Regions from separate parts of the Homo sapiens genome. Here regions 1, 2, 3, 5, 6 and 7 are each linked to region 4. Evidence: promoter capture Hi-C in 16 types of primary human blood cells and fetal thymus (Javierre and others, 2016). All regions are on one chromosome and are shown on one strand. The core of a region is centred on a gene start or on the middle of the fragment in contact, and the rest is flanking DNA. Distances in the headings are between cores, read along the strand shown.

Region 1 (2,700 bases), core at 126-2,625, 7.4 Mb after region 4:
TAGTTTGGATTCTCAATGCCTTTCCCAACTTGACCCTACTCTTGAGGGAGACTTTGAACTCTCTGGCATATTCTCTCTGATAGGTGCTATCTGCACATAAATGTGTTTTTCTGAGAAGAGGTTCCTTAGCTTTTCTGAGCCCTAGGAGATAGAAAACCAGGACCCTAGCAGCTCCCTGATCAGGACCGAGGTTAGGAGCACTGCAGCCTAGGGCAGGAAGAAGGATTTGCTCTCTGGGCTGCTATTTTCTCTGCCCAGCTCCTGATACTTTAGTGGTGGAGGTTTTGCCCAGCTGCTGGACTTGTGGCTGAGCCTGTCTTCTTCAACTCCGCTTCTCCGTGTGGCAGTACTGCCCAGGCCCACATCTCCTCCGTGCAGCATACTGGCCGCTGTCCGTGCACGCCGACCTTTGGCCGCCAACAGGAAGGTGATGGAAACCAGCCTTGCCCCGCCCCCGCCTCCAGAGCTTTGAAATAAACTTTAGCTGTTCATCCCGAAGAAACTGTACTTCCCAGTGACGCTGCTCCCATGCCTCAACCTGCCCCTGCTGGAGAGCTGTTTCACTTTGTGGGGAGTCACTGATTGTGCGGGACCTGGCAATATGGTCTTCTTCTTTCCTCTTAGAGGCTCTATTCTAAATATGTCTTCCTTCCGGACCGTAGATGCAGGTGTATCTAGAGGGCAGTTGGCTCGCCCAAAATAGCACCGAAGTCCAGGAGGCAGGAAAGAAACTCTGGCATTAAATGAGCTCACACCCTCTCCAGACTCCCACAGTCATTGTCCCCTCTGACCCTCGCAACGCCCAACTGCTAGAGGAGGCTTTGCGCCTCACATACGACCTTCCCCGTCTTCAGAAATGAAGACACTGAGAGAGGTCAGGGGACTTTCTCGCCAAGGTCCAGCAGCTAAGATGTAAAGGAGTAGGGAGAGTCAGGATTTGTACCCAGGACTTCAAGGCCATCTCCTTCACTGAAGCTCTCCAAGAAGACGAGTTTGGAGGCTGAGGACCTGAGCTCCTCTTCTCTCGCTTTCACTCACCCACTGCAGGACTGCAGGCTCCAGGGAGGCAGGCGCCAAGGCCGCCCTCCGCGGGACCCGGTACAAGGCAGGCGCCCCGGGATGGCAGACTGGGCCAGGACCGAAGCCGAATCCTTCTTTTGCCTGCGGCATGGCTAAATGTGGACCTCGCTCGCTACGGTGCGAACGTGTTGGGTCAAGCTCTAAGCCCAGAAGTGGGGCTCGGCTGGGTCTGAGGCTCCCCGCTCTGGACAGCTTAGAAGCCCGGCGGGGGCGGGCGCAGCCTTAGAGACCTCAGGCGCCGGCCTCGCTGGAGCCGCGCCGCCGCTTCACATTGCGCACGCGCGGGGCTGGCGCGGGCTCCGCCCCCCGGGTAGGGACCTACAGCGGGCGCGGCGCCGGCGGTCTGCGGCCGGCGGTGTAGACGCCCCTTCGCCGGGACCTGGCACCCGAATCCGGCCTGCCGGGTAAGTAGCTGAGCGGGAGGGCGAGGGCCCCCGGATCCGCGTGTACGTGACCGAAGCGCCAGCTGCGGCCGGGTCGTGGGGGCGCGCGGGGCGGGGGCCTGACGGGGCCAGGCCGGGGCGGGTCGAGCGGCCGCGGCCCCGCGTGCCCGCGCTGAGGGCTGGCGTCGTGGCAAGTGGCACCGGGTAGGCCGAACGCGGGCTCCGGCTGGTGGGCGTGGGGCACCGGCTGGGGTGGGGGCCCGGGCCGCGGCTTGGCGCGCGTTGAGCAGGTACGCGGGCCTGGCCTAGGGTCGGGGTCCGGCCCGGCGCCCCCAGCTCGCCTTTGTGCGCCGCGACCCCGCGGACTCGGCCGACGCGCCGGGGCGACCGAGGCGGGGGTGGCAGCGTCCCGCGGGGCCGTTCGTGTGGCGCCGCTGGCCCGGCCTGCGCTCCCCGCCCCCAGCGTTATGAAGGATGCCTCCTCCGAGGGCTCCTACCGTCCGCGCCGAGCAGGAAGTGTCGTCAGGAGGCCATTTTTAAAGCCTCCTGCGGGCCTCGGAGCTGAGCGTTGACGGTTTTGGTTTTCTTCGGTTGGAAGAACCCCGGCCTTCCCTCGCGGCGAGCGGGACGCGCCTGGGAGACGACGATGCGCCCGATGCACCTGGCCTCGTCCTCCGAGCGCCCAGGCTCAGGCGCGCTCGCCTCGGATGCTGCCTGCCATCGGGGGAGCGTGCCGACAATAAACTCGAAAACCAGCCTGGCATTGTCTTTCCTTGAGAGGGTCAGGGGTGGGCTCGTCCATCGAGGTCCTGCGCATCTTTTACGGGGGGCGAGGACATAGGAGGTTGAGAAGAGATGGTGAAGGTTTGAATTGTTCCAAATGCTGATGTCATTGTGGGACCTCCCCATACCGGCCTGCCCGTCTTATCTTGGTGTCTTTGGGGTTTGGGGCTCTGTAAAGCCAAGAAATTGCAGGGTTCAAAAGAATGAAAGTTTCTTAACCAGAAAGGAAAAGCCAAAAGAGCGAACGGGAGAAAACACTTAAGTCTTTATAAGTTGGGTAGTTAATGTATCCCGTTACAATACCTCTGACTTTAAAAATTGTAATAATGAACGATTTATCAACGTAACATTAAAAAAAAAAACTACAGAGCATTATGTCCTATTTAAAAGTACAAATCTACGTAGCTAAACTCTAATGTTGTGTTAGACTCTTTAAACCATCTTAAGTTTAGAC
Region 2 (2,745 bases), core at 246-2,745, 7.4 Mb before region 4:
CATCATTTAAAATAGGTCCAGAACACACAGGTTTAAATTCTGCTAGTGTCACTCATTGTATAACCTTAAATACATTACTCAAACTTCTTGAGCTTTGCTTTCCTGATCTGTAAAATGGGCATATGGATAAATACTTGTTGGGTGAGTGAATGGATGAAAGTAATTTTAGAATACTTCTCTTGAAATTGCTTCCAAAGCTGGTATCTTTTGAATACCTTTAATGAATGCATATCTTGACAATGACTAACTTTTTGGAAACAGACAAACATTTTTCTGAAGTAAGGTGGTGAATAAGGTAAGAGAAGAAGCTGGCTCAAAAACCTGGCGTGTCCATTCAGTAATGACATTAATTTTGGGATTTTTGCACATTTTGCATGTGATTGACAAAGCAGCTTTGAAGGCTTTTCCAAAGAAGAAGTTGCAAAAATAGTTGCATTTTGAGAATAGGAACACAACTTTCCAAAAGTTTGAAAAATACTCATTTTAGAAAGTATGCTAAATTCTTGTTGTTTTGTGGTTTACCTTTCTGTTTAAAGTAGTTAAATGCTCTATGTCATTCAACAAATATTTATCAAACAGCTATTATGTATTTAGTGCTGTGCTTTGAACACAGATATTGGTATAGCCCTTGTGAACCAGGAGTTCACAGTCTAGTTGAGACAGAAAATTAACAATTGAAATGCAATTCAACAAATACCATAAATAGACTGATTTATATTAATAGCTGGATGCCATGGGAACATGCAGTAGAAACAGTGATGAGCTGGTACATGTTGAACAACTGACTTCTAGGGGAGTGGGTTGGAGTGTAAGGGCCTGATTAGCGGTGTTTACTGATTTCCATGGTGTAAATGCTCCCACCATGGCCAACGTGACATCATCAAAAGAGGAGTTGGAAGATGTGCAGTAGTATAACATTACATTGAATTTCCACCATATAGATAAAATGCATGTAAATAACCTGAAGAGCATAGATAATAGTAAAATGTAAAATAATTAGGAAGTGACAAATTTTGAGTATTTTTACTTTTGCTTGTAATATAATTTTTGAGTGGCTGTATTTGAAAACTAGCTCACAAAATTACTGAACATTTAACAATCAGCTCTTGCAAGTGGGTGTGACTCAGTGCAAATGGACAAACCACCAGGTGAAAGCAATGTCAGGAATTACTGTAGGCTCACATAAGATGAAGATTGTAAGGAAACTGGAGGCAGGGATCTCCAGCAGTGAACCTCTAAGTTGTTGAACTGTTACAGCACTGCCAGGTTCCTATGCCGGCTGTGCAGAAACAGACCAGTATTCCGACAGCAGGCTTGCAGCAGAGAAAGTTTTAATAATCACAAGTTACAAGCCAGGAAACAGGAAGAGTTCTCAAGCTTCAATCCATTTCATCAAGGGGTTCTAGGCAAAGTTTTTTAAGGGGATTTGTGGAGGGTGAGGGGCTGGAAAATTTGGGGTTATCGATTCGTTGGGGTAAGGGAGATGAAATCATTAGGATGTGACAATTGCATTCCTCCATGAATCAGCTTTTTATTGGGCCTTCCAGACAAGTTGGCGTCCTTAGTTTTGTTGGTATGCGGGACCTAAAGAAGCAATGCAAACAGAAAGCTTATCTTCTCATAATGTCTTAGATTTTATCTTCAGAGCAGAAAAAGAATGAAGAGTCTTGTGACAAGGGCCACATTCTCCTGGGGTAGTAAGTAGCAACCAGCTACAAGAAAGTCGGCCACACTGCAAGCTGGCTTAATAACAGCAGCTGTAAGCCTAGTTGGATTTTTTTCCCCTCCTTAATCAATTTTACAAAATGTTCTTGGGGATAGTTTCAGAATGGTCAAACTAATTCATTAATTCAATATCAACTTTTTTTTTAGGCCCTACTTTATTCTGGGCACTGTTTTAGGTGCCCGGGGGAAGGGGGCACCGCAGCAAAAACCGAGGTCCTGCCGTTAGGTTAGAGAGTTTACATTCATGGGTATGGGTGTGTGTGTGTGTGTGTATAAACAAACGTCTGGCATGTCACGTGGTGAGTAGTAAGTGCTATGGCTAAACAGTAGTGTCAAGGGGAAAATGAGTGGGGCACTGCTATTTCCTATGGGGTTGTGAGGCAGTAATAAGTGTGGAAATGTATCAAAGTAAAGATCGAAGGTTCTGGCATCTGACAGTTTGAATAAGGCGGAAGCACAGACCCTGCACAGATCTCAACCATCCAACAGGACTGAAACACAGAACTTGGAAAAACCCACGTACCTGCTTCTTACTCTGCTCGCCCGGTCTGCACAAGTGCAAAATCCTTTCCTGAAGTTTGTGTCAGGAACACCAGGGTTTAACTAGACGAATCAGCCGCAGCGGGGCGGGGCTAATTTCAGTCCTTCCTTTGCCAAAAGTCAGCGAAAAGCGCGGACTCCCTCGCGCATGCTCAAATACGCCAACTTCCTCCTGGAGCGCCATCTGAGAAGGTCTGCGCATGTGCACGAACGAGAAGTGTTTTTTTTGTTTTGTTTTGTTTTGTTTTGTTTTTTGTCCCAAGGCGCTGCCGTACCGTCCAGGCGGCGAGTTGCATTCTGGTTCCGTCGTGTGTCTGGCGTGTGGAGCTAGTGCTCCCGCTTATTCGCCACTGTCGCCACCGCTGTCATGAACCGCGAGAGCTTCGCGGCGGGAGAGCGGCTGGTGTCGCCGGCTTACGTGCGGCAGGGCTGTGAGGCCCGCCGCTCGCATGAGCACCTCATACGGCTGCTTCTGGAGAA
Region 3 (2,700 bases), core at 146-2,645, 7.7 Mb after region 4:
GGTTTTTACACACAGCCCTGACCATTTAGGGGAAGGAATTTTTAGGGGCAGAACTTCCTCTCATGCCCCTGCCCAGGCATCTTCCATCTCTGGATGCCCTCCCCAGCGGAAGGCCCATGGGAGCCCCACCCTTTCTACGGCAGCACGGCCTGGGGAGGAGGTCGTCCAGGCTGGGAGAGCCCACGAGGCCATCTGTCTGGCGGGATGGGCAGGTGCCCCTGTATGTGAGCGTGAGACCTCCCCCATCCCCAGTCAGCTGTGAGTGTACACCGAACAGGGTCTTGGAGGGGCTGCCTGTTAAGTGGATCATTTTCTTGCCAGGTGCTTTGGGTAGGGATGTGTCAGTGTCAGAATATGAAGGACTAATTGGAGTGGGAGAGGGTTGGATTGGGCAGACATTTAATAAATAGCCAGCATCTTAGTTTTATTGAGGTGTACTTTAGATACAGTAGAATTTGTCTGTATTCAGTGTGTGGCTTGGATCTTGACAGATGACCTATATAGTCCCATAAGCACCACCCCTGTCATGACAGAACATTCCTGTCACTCCGGAGGGTGCCCCCCGCCCCCGCCACCCCTTCCACCCTCACCCCCAGCAGCTGCTTATCTGCTTTCTGTCATTGGGGTTGCCTTTTCTAAAATCTTCTTTCATATGAAGTGAGAGGCAATGTGTAGTCTTTTCTGTCTGGCTTTTTCACTTTGCATAACATGTTGGCGATTGATAGCTGGTGTTGAGTGCATTTGCACTTTGTTCCTTTCTATCACTAAGCAGTGCGGTGTGTTGCCTGTTTCTCTGTTCACCTGTTGATGGATATTTGGGTATTTCCAGTTTTTGGCCATTGCAAAGAAAGCTTCTGTGAACATTGCTCCTGTGTCTTTTGGTGGACACATGCTTCCATTTCTCCAGGGCAGATACCTAGGAGTGGGGTTGCTGGTGTTTGGTGTGAGTAGTGTCTGTTTAGGTTTATAAATAACCTGCCCAACTCTTTTCCAACTGTACCATTTTGCATTTCCACCAGCAGTGTGAACATTCCAGTGTCCCCACCCCTCTACCCTTGCCAGCACTTGGTGATGTCAGTCTTTTCTTTTTATTGATTCTAGTGAGTATGGAGTGGTATTCTGTTGTAGTTTTGACTTGCATTTCCCAAGACTAATGACACTGAGCGCTTTTTCATGTGCTTACTTGTCATTCGTAGTATCTTCTTTGGATAGACACCTTGATACATTCTAATTTCACTGGCGAACGATTATCCCAAAATGGATTAATTTATGACTGGTGTCTATTATATCACATAATGCTGTGTTAAGTCTTAGGGATGAAAGAGAAGGTCTGTGTGTACTTCTTTTTTTCTCCCCCAAACCACTTATTGAGATGGCTAGTGAGATAAAGGTCATGTTAAGCAGGGCACAGCAGAGTTGGAGGAGATGGACAGGAATGCTAGGGACTATGATGTGTGTTGTGCCATCCCGGTGGACATGTTAAATGATCTGGAAGCACAGAAGAGTTGATACGGATAGCTTGGGCCATACTTGGAGGCTTCATGGAGGAGGGAACGCTTCCGTTAGGCCTGATGGGTGAGTGGGTGTCCGTAGGCAGGGAGAGGTGCTGGCCAAGGGCACAGACTACACACAGACGTGGAGCTTAAACAGGATGGCAGAAGGTGGGCAGGAATCAGGGTCTGTACTTCTGTGGTCTCAGTCTCGTGAGATGGGGGCCCCTCAGGTCTTGAGGAGGGGTCTAAGGGAGATGAGGGGTGGGGTGGCAGCAGGTGGGGTCATGCTAGGGGTGCCCGGGCACCCTCACAGGAGTCTGGTGTGTCCTAAGCCTCAAGCTGGCGGGAAGCTGCCTCTTTCAAAGAGCACTTGGTTTGTAAAAAGCTGACAGTAGGTAGCAGAGATTAGATGGCCATGTCTTTATTCCCTCCTGAAAGAAAGCTTCACTGTGGAGACAGATTGAGAGCAGCCCAGTGTGTGTGTGTGTTTCTGTTTCACTGAGGCCCTGCGTGTGTGTGTATGCCGGGAGGGAGGCGCAGGGATCTACTTTTAGCACATTACATGTTGAAACCTCATTGCTGAAGATGCTTCTAGTCTCAAATGTTGGCCCCATTTTTGCCACAAAGTCCACCCAGCCTTTGATCTGTGCTATGCAAGGGAGTGGGGAATCGACTTTCCTTTCCAAACCCAAGTTTTTGATAGAGAGGGCTCCCACAGCGTGTCCTGCTCTGCTCCTGCACAGCACAGCCAGGCGCTGAGTTTGGGGTCCAACATTGATTGGCAGCCAGGAGAGCTGGTCCTAAACACGGAAGAGAACAGAGCGCTGGAATGAATGCAGCTTCCCACAAATGGGAGGGATTAGAACCAGGGCTTCTTGCTCTAATCCACCTTTTGTGTATCTGTTTCACTGATATATTTGTTCTGTATTATGGAAAGTACAGAAAAGCAGAAAAGGAAAAAAATCACCTTGTTGTACAGTCATAGACTAAGGAGAACGAATTAAAGTAACATGAAATTCTATCACCCAGAGATAGGTAGGCAGGCAGTAGATACGTAGGCAAGTGGTATGCTTCTGCGGTTTTCTTCACGGTTTTAGCTTCAGTGTTTCTTTGTACACCCCTTTCACCCCATATCTGTTGATGTGGAGAGCTGGAAGCTTGACTGCTTCTCCATTCCTTCTGTTCATTCCGGGGTCTCCTCCTGCAG
Region 4 (2,700 bases), core at 61-2,560:
CAATCAATTTGCATGAATTTCTCTCCAGGCTATAATGGGAGTACACAAGCTTGACTTTTGACAGTGAAAAGATTCCTTTGATATATTTTTTTCAATATCTTTGATTCTCAATAAGCCTTTAGTACCAGTACGTTACAAATACGCTTCTTCAACAACCCAAAATCAATACTGGCTTTTATATTTCTCATATTCAGGCCTTCCTATCACCAGCAGTTTCTTTATGAGATAACTTGCACATCCTATCTCATATCCTCAAAGCCCTGTGATGTTTACTCACAATTTTTCTTGGACCTCAAGATAATTCATCTTCCCCAAATTAATTGTTCTATTCTTCTCAAGGTTCCACTCAAAACAAACAAATAGTATGTACATAAATAAGAATGGCCAGGCCCTAAAAATAATTTGGTATTTGGTGATTGGATTCAACGTAACCGTAGGACAAGGGTAGAATCATTTGATGTTCGGCGGGGAGCGATGACCCCAGGGGCAACGACCACTGAACCCCCGCATTCAGGATCCACTCTGCGGTTCAATATTTGATGTCTGATCGCCTCGGTGGTCGTAAATGTTTCTCTCCACGTTCACGATCGGACTAAGGAATAACGGTCCACGCCGCCCAGAAGCTGGGGGTGTCGGCTCAGAAAAGCCAAGGCGGGGCCCGTGTGAACGACGCCCAGGCTTCGGAGGCTTTCTGGCCTGGGCCCAGGCGACCTCGGGTAAGTCCCTGACTTCTCCGAACCTCAGATCCCTATGAAGTGAGTCGCGAAGGTGAACAAGGCTGGAGTCACGGTGCGCCGAGCCCGAGGGCCACGGAGGGCCCCTGAGGGAGGGTGGGCCGGGGCGGGCGAGAGGCGGCGGCCGGGGCCGGGAGCGCTTACCGTGCGGTAGGTGCGGCTCAGCGCCACCACCAGCTTCGCCTGGTTCTGGTGCGGCTGCTGCGCCAGCCGAAAGGCCTCCTTAATCGACAGCAGCCTCCTTTCCGCTCCCATGGCTCTGGAACCCTGCCGGGACGAGTCCTGCCCGCGCTCGGCTACAGCCTGCCAGCCCGCCAACCCAGAGGCAGCGCTCTCCGAGTAGTCTTCTATGACAGCCCCAGGGAGTATTTACCGCTCGAACGTTCAAATAATTCCCGCGAGAGGGGGAAATCCCGCGAGACTGCCGTAAGCGCTTTGGGAGAAGAGAGCGGGAAGCGATGGGTCCACCCACCTCGCACCCCGCGCTTTGGGCGCATGCGTCTAGGTTCAACCTTGTCCAGCCGTTTTCACGGAGGGAAGTGGCGTTTCTAAGGGGGAGGGGCCTTGACTCGGCCGGAAGTAGCGTCGGCGCGGGAGCTGAGCGGAGTGGCCTTGCCACCGGAGGGGAAGGGCTGCTGGCGTTAGGCCTGGCTGGGTCGTGCGGCTGAGCGTGAGGCTAGAAAGAAAAAGCGATCCTCCAAGAGTGAGAACGGGAGATCTGCCGAGGATAACAACCTCCCTTGTGGCCGAAGGGCGGGGGATCCCCACACGAGGGCTCCGCTTCGAGAGACGGCGACAAAGGAAAGTTCGTAGCGCGTTCCGGAGGCCCGGCCACCTCTGAGAAGGGAGACGACGCTGCTGGGTCCGCTGAGCGGGGCGACCCGAGGTTAGTGGAGACGGATGCTGTCTTTTGAAGGCCTTAGTCCCTGCCCTGGTGAAGCCGACTGCGAGGTTCCACAGGGCGTGCAGGCAGTCCGGGGATCGTTGCGAAGGGGGGTGCGGGCTAACTTAGCTGCTGCCGTTTCTAGATGTGCAGCTGTGTAGGCCCTGTTTACAAGTGTGCATAAGGACAGTGTATTAAGGGAGAACTCAAGAGAATGGAAAGGTCTTTCGGGTAGTGGTTAAAATAAAGAAGAGTAGGAACTAGGTTTTTAAATTTTAAATGAAATTATATCAGACAGAACTTCTGTTGGATCTCAGGATGCACCATCCAAAAATAGGACTGTAGGAGACCAAAATATGCCACCCTACAATATACTTCTAGAGTATATTTTGAGCTGGTATTCTGATAAAATGCAGACACAGGAGTCGCTCTGAAAATCTGTCCTGTTGTAAAAGAAATTGACATCTACAGAGGAAATATACATCAGTAAAGGATCTGTATCAGAAAGAGGGCAGCTCTGCGATAATTTTTGTTACCTGGGAGATCTTATCTGCATACCAAGACAACTTTTATTCACCGTATATTTCCTCCCCTCACCTTTCCACAACTTTGTGGCCACCATCCCCCAGAAAGCCGCAAGCCCCCATTTCTTGAGTAGCGTAGGATGCTGTATAATATTCAATCATCTGACCATGGTGGGACTCCTCTGCGTATGTAATTAAGTACGGGTTTTTTTTCTTGTTAATGTCTATGTCAGGTTAATTTGTAACCCAGCCAAAGAACCTAGGAGGATGGAGGGAAGCCGTTTTTCCCTCTCCTACACCTCAGTAACCTACTGCCAGCTGAAGAAATAGAACATTACTAAAGCCACCTGTACATCTTTCTCCTTTTGAATTACCTGCCCTCCGAAGAAGTAATGGATTTTCTGAATTTACTGTTAACTTTTACCATGCAGCTTTCTATATCTTAATGACATATTTTAATATATTAATGACATGAATAAATCCCTGAATGAGGATATTGTACTATTTTGCATGTTTTAACCGTTAAATGAATAATTATATGTGCATCTGGCTTTTTTCA
Region 5 (2,700 bases), core at 115-2,614, 7.7 Mb after region 4:
ACGTTAGCTCTGACCACACAACTGGAGGCCAGCAAAGACCCAGGCACTGTGGACTGAGTCAGAAGGAAAAGGCAGAAACCCTAGGACGGTAAGTAGTTACCCAAAGACAAAGCTTTCAACTGGAGAGCGACTGACGCTATCCTTGAACTTGGGTGAGAGCATGCTAAGATTCTACCTTCACTGGAAAAGTTGGTTATTTAGGGGCACAATTAAAACTTCCATATCTGATCTATCCATTTCAGCCCTTTCACGTGTAAAGGACAGTTTAGACTCTGTAGACCCAACCTGTTTAACTCCTGGTTGCATCACTTGCTTTTCAACTCGGCAAAGTTCCAACCCAAGTTCCCTTCCCTGATGTAAGATGAAGGGCAAGGGCCCACAAACCCAGCATCTAGCTCACACGAAGTGCTTGCAAGTATGAGGGTAAGTAAACGTTCCAGGAAGGGTCCCGGGAAAGGACAGGCCGGGGCTGTCACCAGGCCTCACAGCAACACACCAAGTCTCAGGCAGCAGGTAGACAGAAGCGACTGTGTTCTATCACTTATGGGAGTTTAAGAAGAATGGGACAGGGGAATTGTTTAACTGTCCCCAGAGTTCTTTTGCAGCTACAGGAGCTTCGAAGCAGTGCAAGACACGGCCTTAGGTCCTCCAGTGTGGAGGCTCAACTCCACCCAGTTACCACCCCCTTCACCGGGATCTTGATGATCAGATAGCTTTCGTTGCCTGAAGCTATGGTTAAGAAACAAGGGTAGACAACCCAAGTAGGATATATTCCTTGTACTGTGTTACTAAAGTTATGCCGTTGATTAGCTGTTTAGAAGTACATCCTTCAGTAACCTCAAACTGAAAAGTTATGCCCAAGCTTCCATGACTTGCAGGGATTTAAAGCTGCTGCAGCATGCAGGTGTTAGTTATTTGCTTATTTGCAAAACCCACTTTCCAATGGGCTGCTCAACTGGAAAGAAAGGTATTTACAACACATAGGGCCCCCCAAGAAGGGATTCAGTAAACGAGTTCACTGGAGGGTTGCAGATAACTCATTTCTTGCCTTGGCAGAATTAACCGGGCTAACCCCTTTTGCATAAGGTTTATGCTAGCAGGTTAAAGGCTTTGTTACCAGTCCTCTGACAAAGGCATCCAAGCACTTCTGGCAAGGTAGCCCGGTTTCCAGTTCACTTTGGAGGGACAGCCCAGGCCCCACAACCCGGATTTTTCCAGGTCAAAAGGTGGATACCAGTAGCTGCTTTTGCCATGCATTTCACCACCCTCCCTAGTCACAGCTAGTAACGGACTATGGACTCGATCCAACCAGTGAGATTTGAGAATTAAAGATCTGAAAGCCTGACAGCGAAGCTAAAAGCGTTACACATTAACTCAGGCTGTGGGCAGCCACTTCCCACCATGTGTCAGACCCTCTAGAGGACTCACTGGCAATCACTCCAACTCCCTGTGCAGATGGGGAGGTGGAGGCAGCGAGACTGGCTTGAGGTAGTAGATAAAGGTGATTTACTCCAGGGACACTCCGGAGATGAAACTTTGAATATGACTTGAGCTTATTTATGAGACAGGGACAGGCCTGCAAAAGGGACTGAAATTCCTGGAGCAGAAAGGCTTCCCCCACTATACCCAACAGTCCTTTGTGGAAAGGGCGGGGGTTCAGTCCACAGGGTGAGCTAGACGGGAGCAGCGCTACCCTTGCATAGGGCTCTTCCTAGGGGGTTGATACAGTTGAAGCAACAGGAAAGAGAAAGCCCCCTTTTCCTGAGCCTGGACAGAACCCATGAGGGTTGAAAGTGAGGAAGCAGCTTGACAGGCTTTGGAGAGAAATTCAGCTCTCCTGTGGCTTTGTTCCTCCCCAAAGCTTCCAGTATAGGCCTCACACATCTGACGTATTTGCAGTTTGTGGCTCTAGAAGCCAGGACTCAGAGCGTGCTCAGAGGACAAGGTGCATTCCAGGAATCCACACGCCCCCACTGTTTGCGTTACATAAAGCGTTCAGAACCCACTCCAAACTTGTTTTCCCCTGAGTGGAAAGCTGTTAAACAGCTCATTTAGCACCTGACGCCAGTTAGCGGTTTGCCCAAGTTACCCAATTGGAGCTAGTTTACCCCAAAGGTAGTCGAAGAGTTAAGTATCCTAAGCTGCTGCTGCTTAGAAGTTTCAAGAACACATTGTTGCCACTTTAGAATTAAGTTCAGGTGATACTTATGTTGCTCGCTCACACAGCAAAAGGAAGAATTGCCACTGTCTGAAAAGCACGCAGGTGTTCATAGATCTGGCACACCTGCGTTCTGTTTCCAATTGTCTGGGTGGGCCCCTGCAACAAGTGCTCGAGCAACAAGGTCCCTGCTCTCAATCCCTAAAAAGGGGAGAGTCGAGACGCTGATGAACCCCATAGTCATAAGCAAACCAGTGTGCAACAAAATGGGAGTATAGCTTGAGGGTGGATTGGCCTTAAACTGAGGCATCAGTGAAGACCCAGAGACAGGTGCCAGAACAGAATGACCCAGGAGACTTGCTCCTTGAGCCAGGCAGAGCCTCAGCATGCCAGTGTCTCAGAAGCCCAGGGAGGATGTTCGGTCTCAAGATAGAAACCTAGGCTACCCAAGGCTCAACAAGCTTTTAAAGTTTCTCTGGCTGCAGTAAGGGGCTCCAAGCAGATACAGATTAACTGGTCAGGAAGAAATTAGAATAACCCAG
Region 6 (2,700 bases), core at 28-2,527, 7.4 Mb before region 4:
TGTCATGTGTGAAGCGATAAACCAACCGGGTGCACAACATCTCATTTAATCCATCCTCACAACCAGCAGGGAGGTGTACCATCGCCTTTTTACAAACAAGTCTGTCTCACCTCTAGCTGAGAGTCTTACAAGTCTCTTGCTATTTCCATCACATTTGTCTAACTCCATTCAACACGCCAGAAAAACTCACTTTATTAATAAATATCCAGGCCTGCACAGCATACCTAAATTTAACCTTCAACATCATTTCAACTGCCCTGTTTCGCCTGAGGTTATCAGTCCGCTTAATAGCGAAAAGAGGTTTTTCGTTTTGGTTTTCTTATGTATTAGAAGTAAATCAAGAAAGAGAAACTAAACTGTAAGAGGGCAGGAACAGACTTTCAACTGCTTTTGCCCCCTGTGGCTAACTTCATAATAACAACATTTAATAGAAAAAGGTTTTGAAACGTGCCCCAGTGGCAACTGGATATTCTGGCTGTCCATCTCTCTCCTGTCATCCACTTTGCAAATTCACCACTCCGGGAACTTTCCTGAGAGTTCAAGGTTCTTAATTCAAAAGTCAAGTCCAAACTTGAGCAAGGACTTACGTCATTTTACAGCGTTAACCTCTCCCCAGTGTCGGTTTCTAGAAGTTTTGACTCACTTTGCGGGGAGGTCTAAAGAATCGGTTTAATGACAACCACTGGCCTTAGGAGAGGGAGCTCCCGGAGAAAGAGCGAGCAAGCTAGGTGCCCGCGGTGCGGCTGCGGCTGGCGCCGGTCCGAGCTCGGGAGCTGCTGCCCAGCGAGCGGGGAAAGCCCGTCCACCTCGGCCAGCGCGCGCGGGAGACAGGACCGAGCCGGGCGACAGGGGCAGCCGCCCGGAGGGGCGCGGGGAGTGGGGCAGGGCCGGGTCGCACCTGAAACCGCGGGGCGGCTCCGGTCCAGCTCGGCGGACGAACTCCGGGAGACCCCCACGTCCCCGGGCGGGAGGGGCAGCTCCTCGTCGCCGGCCTCGCCCTCCTCCCCGGCAGCGTCCAGCAGCCTCACGGCGCTGCCTGGGGCGCCTCTCCGCGGGTGGGCCCAGGCGATCCGCGGTAGCAGCGGCTCCCGCTCCCCATCCTCCTCCTCCTCCGGGCTCCCGCCGTCCGCGGACGCCAACCGGTCGGGCTCGGAGGGATCCTCCATGGACTCCCTCTGCTCCCTCCGCGCTGAGACCAGATCAGAGCAGCCAGGTGCCAGAGACTGGGCTCTGCATGGCGCGGAACGGGAGCGACCGGGTAGAACGGACGCCACCTCACCAGCGCACGGGCACGCTTGGCGCCCGCCCAGCGGTTGTCCCGCCTCGCCGCCGGCCGCGCCCCACCTCGCGCCTCCGCCAGGCACCACCCCCGCGCCTGCGCAGAAGGGTCGTGGCGGCGGCGGCGGCGGCAGCGGGGCACGTGGGAGTGAACAGGGGGCGGGGCTTTTGAGGGGTCAGGTGGGGTGGGGCCGCCACCTGCTTCCGTGAGCGCGGGGAGAAGCTGGGCACAGCTCGCTTTACTCCCAGTGGAGGGCGGGAAGGTGAGTAATTTTCAAAGAGGTGCCCTCCTGCAACCAAAAGCGGCTTCTCCCTGACAGAATTCTCTCTCAGAGTTTACCATAATCTGTAACTATAGATTTAATTGTATGACATTTCTTTCCTCCAGTAGACGTCCAGGAGGGCAGGGACCTTGTCTTTGTTCAGATATTCTTGATAGTGGCAGTTTGTATGTTTTCTTTTTCTGACTAATCTAGCTAGAAGTTTATCAATTTTTAAATCTTTTCAAAATGTCATGTTTTGGTTCCATTGATTTTCTGTTTTCTGGTCCATTGCCTTATTTTGCTCTTTATTGCTCACTTGAGTTTTGATTTCCTCTTCTTTTTCTAGTTGCTTAGAGTAGAAGATGATTGATTCTGGATCTTTCTGCTTTTCCAATGCTAGTATTTTAAGGCTATAAATTGCCCTCTAAGCACTGCTTTAGCTGAATTCTCCTTTTTTTTTTTCTTGGTGGTTGTTATTTTTGAGACAGGGTCTCACTTTGTTATCCAGGCTGGAGTGCAGTGACACAATCATAGCTCACTGCAGTCTCAACCTCCTAAGCTCAAGGGATCTTCTCAGCTTTAAACTGTAGAAGACACAGTAGCTGGAACTGCAGGTGTGCACGACCACATCCTGTTAATTTTTAAATTTAAATTTTTTGTAGAGATGGGATCTCACTGTTGCCCAGATTGGTCTTGAGCTCCTGGTCTCAAGCAGTCGTCCTGCTTCAGCATCCCAAAATTCTGGGATTACAAGCATAAGCCACCTTGCCTGGCCTGCTACTGTGCTTTTGTTTTCCTTCAGCTGAAAATAGTTTTTAATTTCCTTTATGATTTCCTCTTTGACCCTGTAAAGGAAAATAAAAATCTCAGAACCACCCCCCACCCCCAACTTGTTATGTCAAAGGGAGAGTTAAGCCTGGAGACTGAAGTCACTCAACACTACAATGCTTTTCCCAAATGGATAGCTGTTACTTCCCATAGTTGTATTAAAACTTTATATGTTAGCCAGACCCTCCTCAAAATGCAAAAAAAAGCCTTATGCATCTCAGTCTCAGGATGACTGTCCTCAACAAATTAATCATAGTAAATTCTTTACTGGCCCTTAAACCTTTCAAGATGTATATCCTTCCATAAAACAAGGACGTGTCAATTGTATAAC
Region 7 (2,728 bases), core at 21-2,520, 7.6 Mb before region 4:
TATTTACTTAAGCATGTTCATTATAAGGTTATTTACGAAAGTGAAAAAATGCAAACAACCTAGATGTCCCATCATAGATTTTTAAAAAATATATCTATCCTGAAGAATATTATGCAGACATAAATCGATGTTCACAGTATACTTATGAAAAAGCATGGGTCATAAAACAGTATGTACTTAAAATTCCATTTTCTTGAGGGAAATTTTTGCATGTGTCTGTAAGCCTATTTATGCAAGAACCTATCTTTGGAACAGTAGACAGGGAAGTTATAATAGTGATTATCTCTGGGTGGTAGGGTTAGAGATGCTTTTATTTTTCCTTGATTTACCTGGCTCATGTATTAACTGTAAAGTTAACAGGCAGCAACCTTTGTTTTCCTCTGTTTTTTTTTTGTTTGTTTGAGACAGTCTCACTCTTGTAGCCCAGGCTGGAGTGCAATGGCGTGATCTCGGCTCACTGCAACCTCTGCCTCCCGGGTTCAAGTGATTATCCTGCCCCGAGTAACTAACTGGGATTACAGGCACCCGCCACCATCCCCGGCTTTGTATTTTTAGTAGAAACGGGGTTTCACCATGTTGGCCACGCTGGTCTCGAACTCCTGACCTCAGGTGATCCACACCCTTCACACCCCCCCCCAACCCTTGGCCTCCCAAAGTGCTGGGATTACAGGTGTGAGCCACCGCACCTGGCCTGTCTTCTTTAAGCATGTGGAATATTTGGGCTGACTTCCTCTAGTGTTCTCCCACTCCTCCTCTCCACACTTGCAGATGAAGAAACTGACCCATCTATTCAGGCCTACCATCTTAGAGATTACCGGCTGTTTCACCTCTTCTAGTATCCAGTGGTATGAAGCAGTTAAACCAGGGATCTTGTAACTAACTGTTCCACCAAAGACAACTGGGATAAAACTCAGCCTCTCAGGGCTCTGAGATCTTGTTGCTCAATGTTGGTGCTATTATAGCCTCATCTTGCTGAGTTAACATTTATACTAAATTGCCTGAAATCAAATAGCAGAGATCTTATCTTTACTTTATTGCAATGACCTTCTTAGTTGACCCTTAATTTCAGCCCAGGTCCTCATGGTCCAACTAAAATCACATCAAATAAGTGAAACTGGATTTTCCTTTAGATTTTGTGGAAGCTGTCCTACCTAGAGAGCTCGAAGTGTATCTGCTTCTTCCATAGTATAGTTAAGGTGTGAGGCATAAAGCGGTATATTAAATGGCATTTCCGTTCACTCAGTTGGTATTTATGAGCACCTACTACCTAGATGGTGAAGAAATGTGTTAGCCTGGCTGCCTGCTTCCCATTAACTGAGGTCACAGGTGATGCGGCTGGTCATCTCTATCGCCGTAGAAAAGGCATGTGCCTAGTAAGCAAACACAATGATGTCCACAGGCACTGCCATCAACGAGCTTCTAATCTGTACAGGGCTAAACAAGTATATAAAGTCATTCTTATACAAGGCATGATTTAAGTACCATAAAAGAAGTATAAAAACAACACACAAACTGACATTTTTATTTCTCTGGCAACAGATGTACTACTCCAGTGGAGAGACCAACAGGGACATTGTGAAGGCAGTGGCAGCTGACCAGGACCCTTTGTAGGTTGTGATTTTATATTTCAAGATTAGTCAAACTTCTCCCAGATGCCTAGTATTTTGCAGATTACTTTGAAGGGGTCTTGCAGATAAAGCTGAGAGAAGAGAGAAAGAGATCCCCCCCCGTATTGTTCTATATTGTTTTATGCTCAGTACCTGTTTTAAGAAACAAGGAAGCAAAACCAAAGGCAGGCAGCCGGGTGCCAGGCACCAGACCCAAAACCAGGCCTGGGCCTGCCTGACCTTAGCCTGATAGTTAAAATTCAACCCATGACCTAGCAACCGATGTTATCCGTAGATTCCAGACATTGTATGGAAGGACATTGTGAAACTTCTCGTTCTGTTGTTTCACTCTGATTACCGGTGCATGCAGCCCCTGTCACATACCCCCTAGATTGCTCAATCGATCACGGCCCTGTCATGTAAAATCTTTAGTGTTGTGAGCCCTTAAAAGGGACAGAAATTGTGCACTCAACAAACTCGGATTTTAAGACACTAGACTGTCGATGCTTCCAACTGATTAAAAGCTACTTCCTTCACTATCTTGGTGTCTGTGGGGTTTTGTCCACGGCTCATCCTGCTACAAGGCTACTAATCTTCACGCAGCACATCCCCACATTTAAAACTTCAGTTAGGGTGGTCCTCATATTGACTCTAAGTGCCTCCTAATACAAATCTGTTTCCCTTTTCAGTCCCTAGAAGAAACATAATAGAGTGGGTCCAGTCCGTATTTCAGGCATGCCTACCACTTCAAAGCCTCTAGAAAATTCCATGCTTACATCAAATTTTTATTGAGCACCAAAAAGGCACAAGATACACAAGAGCAGATGAAATGGGTGCTGACATTAAGAGACCTAAATCTTTGAGGGAAATAAAATCAGTAAAAATAATCACAGAATAATATGTGAAAGGCCTTAAATGTGGTATCAAACACCAAGGGGCCAAAGAAGGTTTCAGTATCAGGGACTCGTGGAAGATTCCCAAAAGAGAACGGAGTGGCCACATGGAGGGACATATTCCAAGCAGAAAGAACAGTATCGGATGAAAAGAATGGGGCATATGGAGTGATAAACTAGTCTAGGTACTGGACTAATTAGGAAAAAACATGAAATCCAGCCTACAAA

What was found. The method cuts DNA at HindIII sites, captures the fragments that hold promoters and counts their contacts. A CHiCAGO score of 5 or more calls a contact.
Region 1: a contact is called between the fragment with the promoter of ZNF518B here and the fragment with the promoter of DCAF16 in region 4, in 1 of 17 cell types (total B cells). The highest score is 7.6, in total B cells.
Region 2: a fragment that was not itself captured here is called in contact with the fragment with the promoter of DCAF16 in region 4 in 1 of 17 cell types (naive CD8 T cells); the score reaches 8.0 in naive CD8 T cells.
Region 3: a contact is called between a fragment that was not itself captured here and the fragment with the promoter of DCAF16 in region 4, in 1 of 17 cell types (neutrophils). The highest score is 6.1, in neutrophils.
Region 5: a fragment that was not itself captured here is called in contact with the fragment with the promoter of DCAF16 in region 4 in 1 of 17 cell types (neutrophils); the score reaches 6.7 in neutrophils.
Region 6: a contact is called between a fragment that was not itself captured here and the fragment with the promoter of DCAF16 in region 4, in 3 of 17 cell types (fetal thymus, naive CD8 T cells and non-activated CD4 T cells). The highest score is 6.8, in fetal thymus.
Region 7: a contact is called between a fragment that was not itself captured here and the fragment with the promoter of DCAF16 in region 4, in 1 of 17 cell types (non-activated CD4 T cells). The highest score is 6.1, in non-activated CD4 T cells.

The regions. Positions count from the first base shown.
Region 1 is chr4:10,456,101-10,458,800 of GRCh38, reverse strand. It overlaps ZNF518B (zinc finger protein 518B), which reads left to right and starts at 1,375. Exons shown (of 3, transcript NM_053042.3): 1 at 1,375-1,484. RefSeq lists a silencer at 1,260-1,899 and enhancers at 2,030-2,189, 1,452-2,267, 2,250-2,309. The HindIII fragment of the contact is 4,989 bases long and covers 1-2,700 here.
Region 2 is chr4:25,160,257-25,163,001 of GRCh38, reverse strand. It overlaps SEPSECS (Sep (O-phosphoserine) tRNA:Sec (selenocysteine) tRNA synthase), which reads left to right and starts at 2,553. Exons shown (of 11, transcript NM_016955.4): 1 at 2,553-2,745. The coding sequence starts at 2,633. SEPSECS-DT (SEPSECS divergent transcript) reads right to left here and starts at 2,330. Exons shown (of 2, transcript NR_037934.1): 1 at 2,249-2,330. RefSeq lists an enhancer at 2,290-2,589 and a silencer at 2,700-2,745. The HindIII fragment of the contact is 232 bases long and covers 1,380-1,611 here.
Region 3 is chr4:10,103,987-10,106,686 of GRCh38, reverse strand. All of the region lies in intron 2 of WDR1 (WD repeat domain 1), which reads left to right. Among named protein-coding and RNA genes, the nearest start is that of WDR1, 11 kb to the left of the region's middle. The HindIII fragment of the contact is 1,084 bases long and covers 854-1,937 here.
Region 4 is chr4:17,809,367-17,812,066 of GRCh38, reverse strand. It overlaps DCAF16 (DDB1 and CUL4 associated factor 16), which reads left to right and starts at 1,310. Exons shown (of 3, transcript NM_017741.4): 1 at 1,310-1,620. It overlaps NCAPG (non-SMC condensin I complex subunit G), which reads right to left and starts at 1,088. Exons shown (of 21, transcript NM_022346.5): 1 at 879-1,088. The coding sequence starts at 989. RefSeq lists enhancers at 617-1,129, 1,403-1,562, 1,130-1,641, 1,683-1,772. The HindIII fragment of the contact is 3,530 bases long and covers 52-2,700 here.
Region 5 is chr4:10,120,408-10,123,107 of GRCh38, reverse strand. No RefSeq gene overlaps it. Among named protein-coding and RNA genes, the nearest start is that of WDR1, 5.0 kb to the right of the region's middle. RefSeq lists an enhancer at 1-354. The HindIII fragment of the contact is 999 bases long and covers 865-1,863 here.
Region 6 is chr4:25,232,630-25,235,329 of GRCh38, reverse strand. It overlaps PI4K2B (phosphatidylinositol 4-kinase type 2 beta), which reads right to left and starts at 1,297. Exons shown (of 10, transcript NM_018323.4): 1 at 899-1,297. The coding sequence starts at 1,166. LOC105374535 (a long non-coding RNA gene) reads left to right here and starts at 1,465. Exons shown (of 4, transcript XR_925490.3): 1 at 1,465-1,541. RefSeq lists enhancers at 408-537, 470-969, 970-1,471 and silencers at 758-817, 858-1,097, 1,198-1,507. The HindIII fragment of the contact is 3,001 bases long and covers 1-2,700 here.
Region 7 is chr4:25,371,955-25,374,682 of GRCh38, reverse strand. No RefSeq gene overlaps it. Among named protein-coding and RNA genes, the nearest start is that of ANAPC4, 3.9 kb to the left of the region's middle. The HindIII fragment of the contact is 3,082 bases long and covers 1-2,728 here.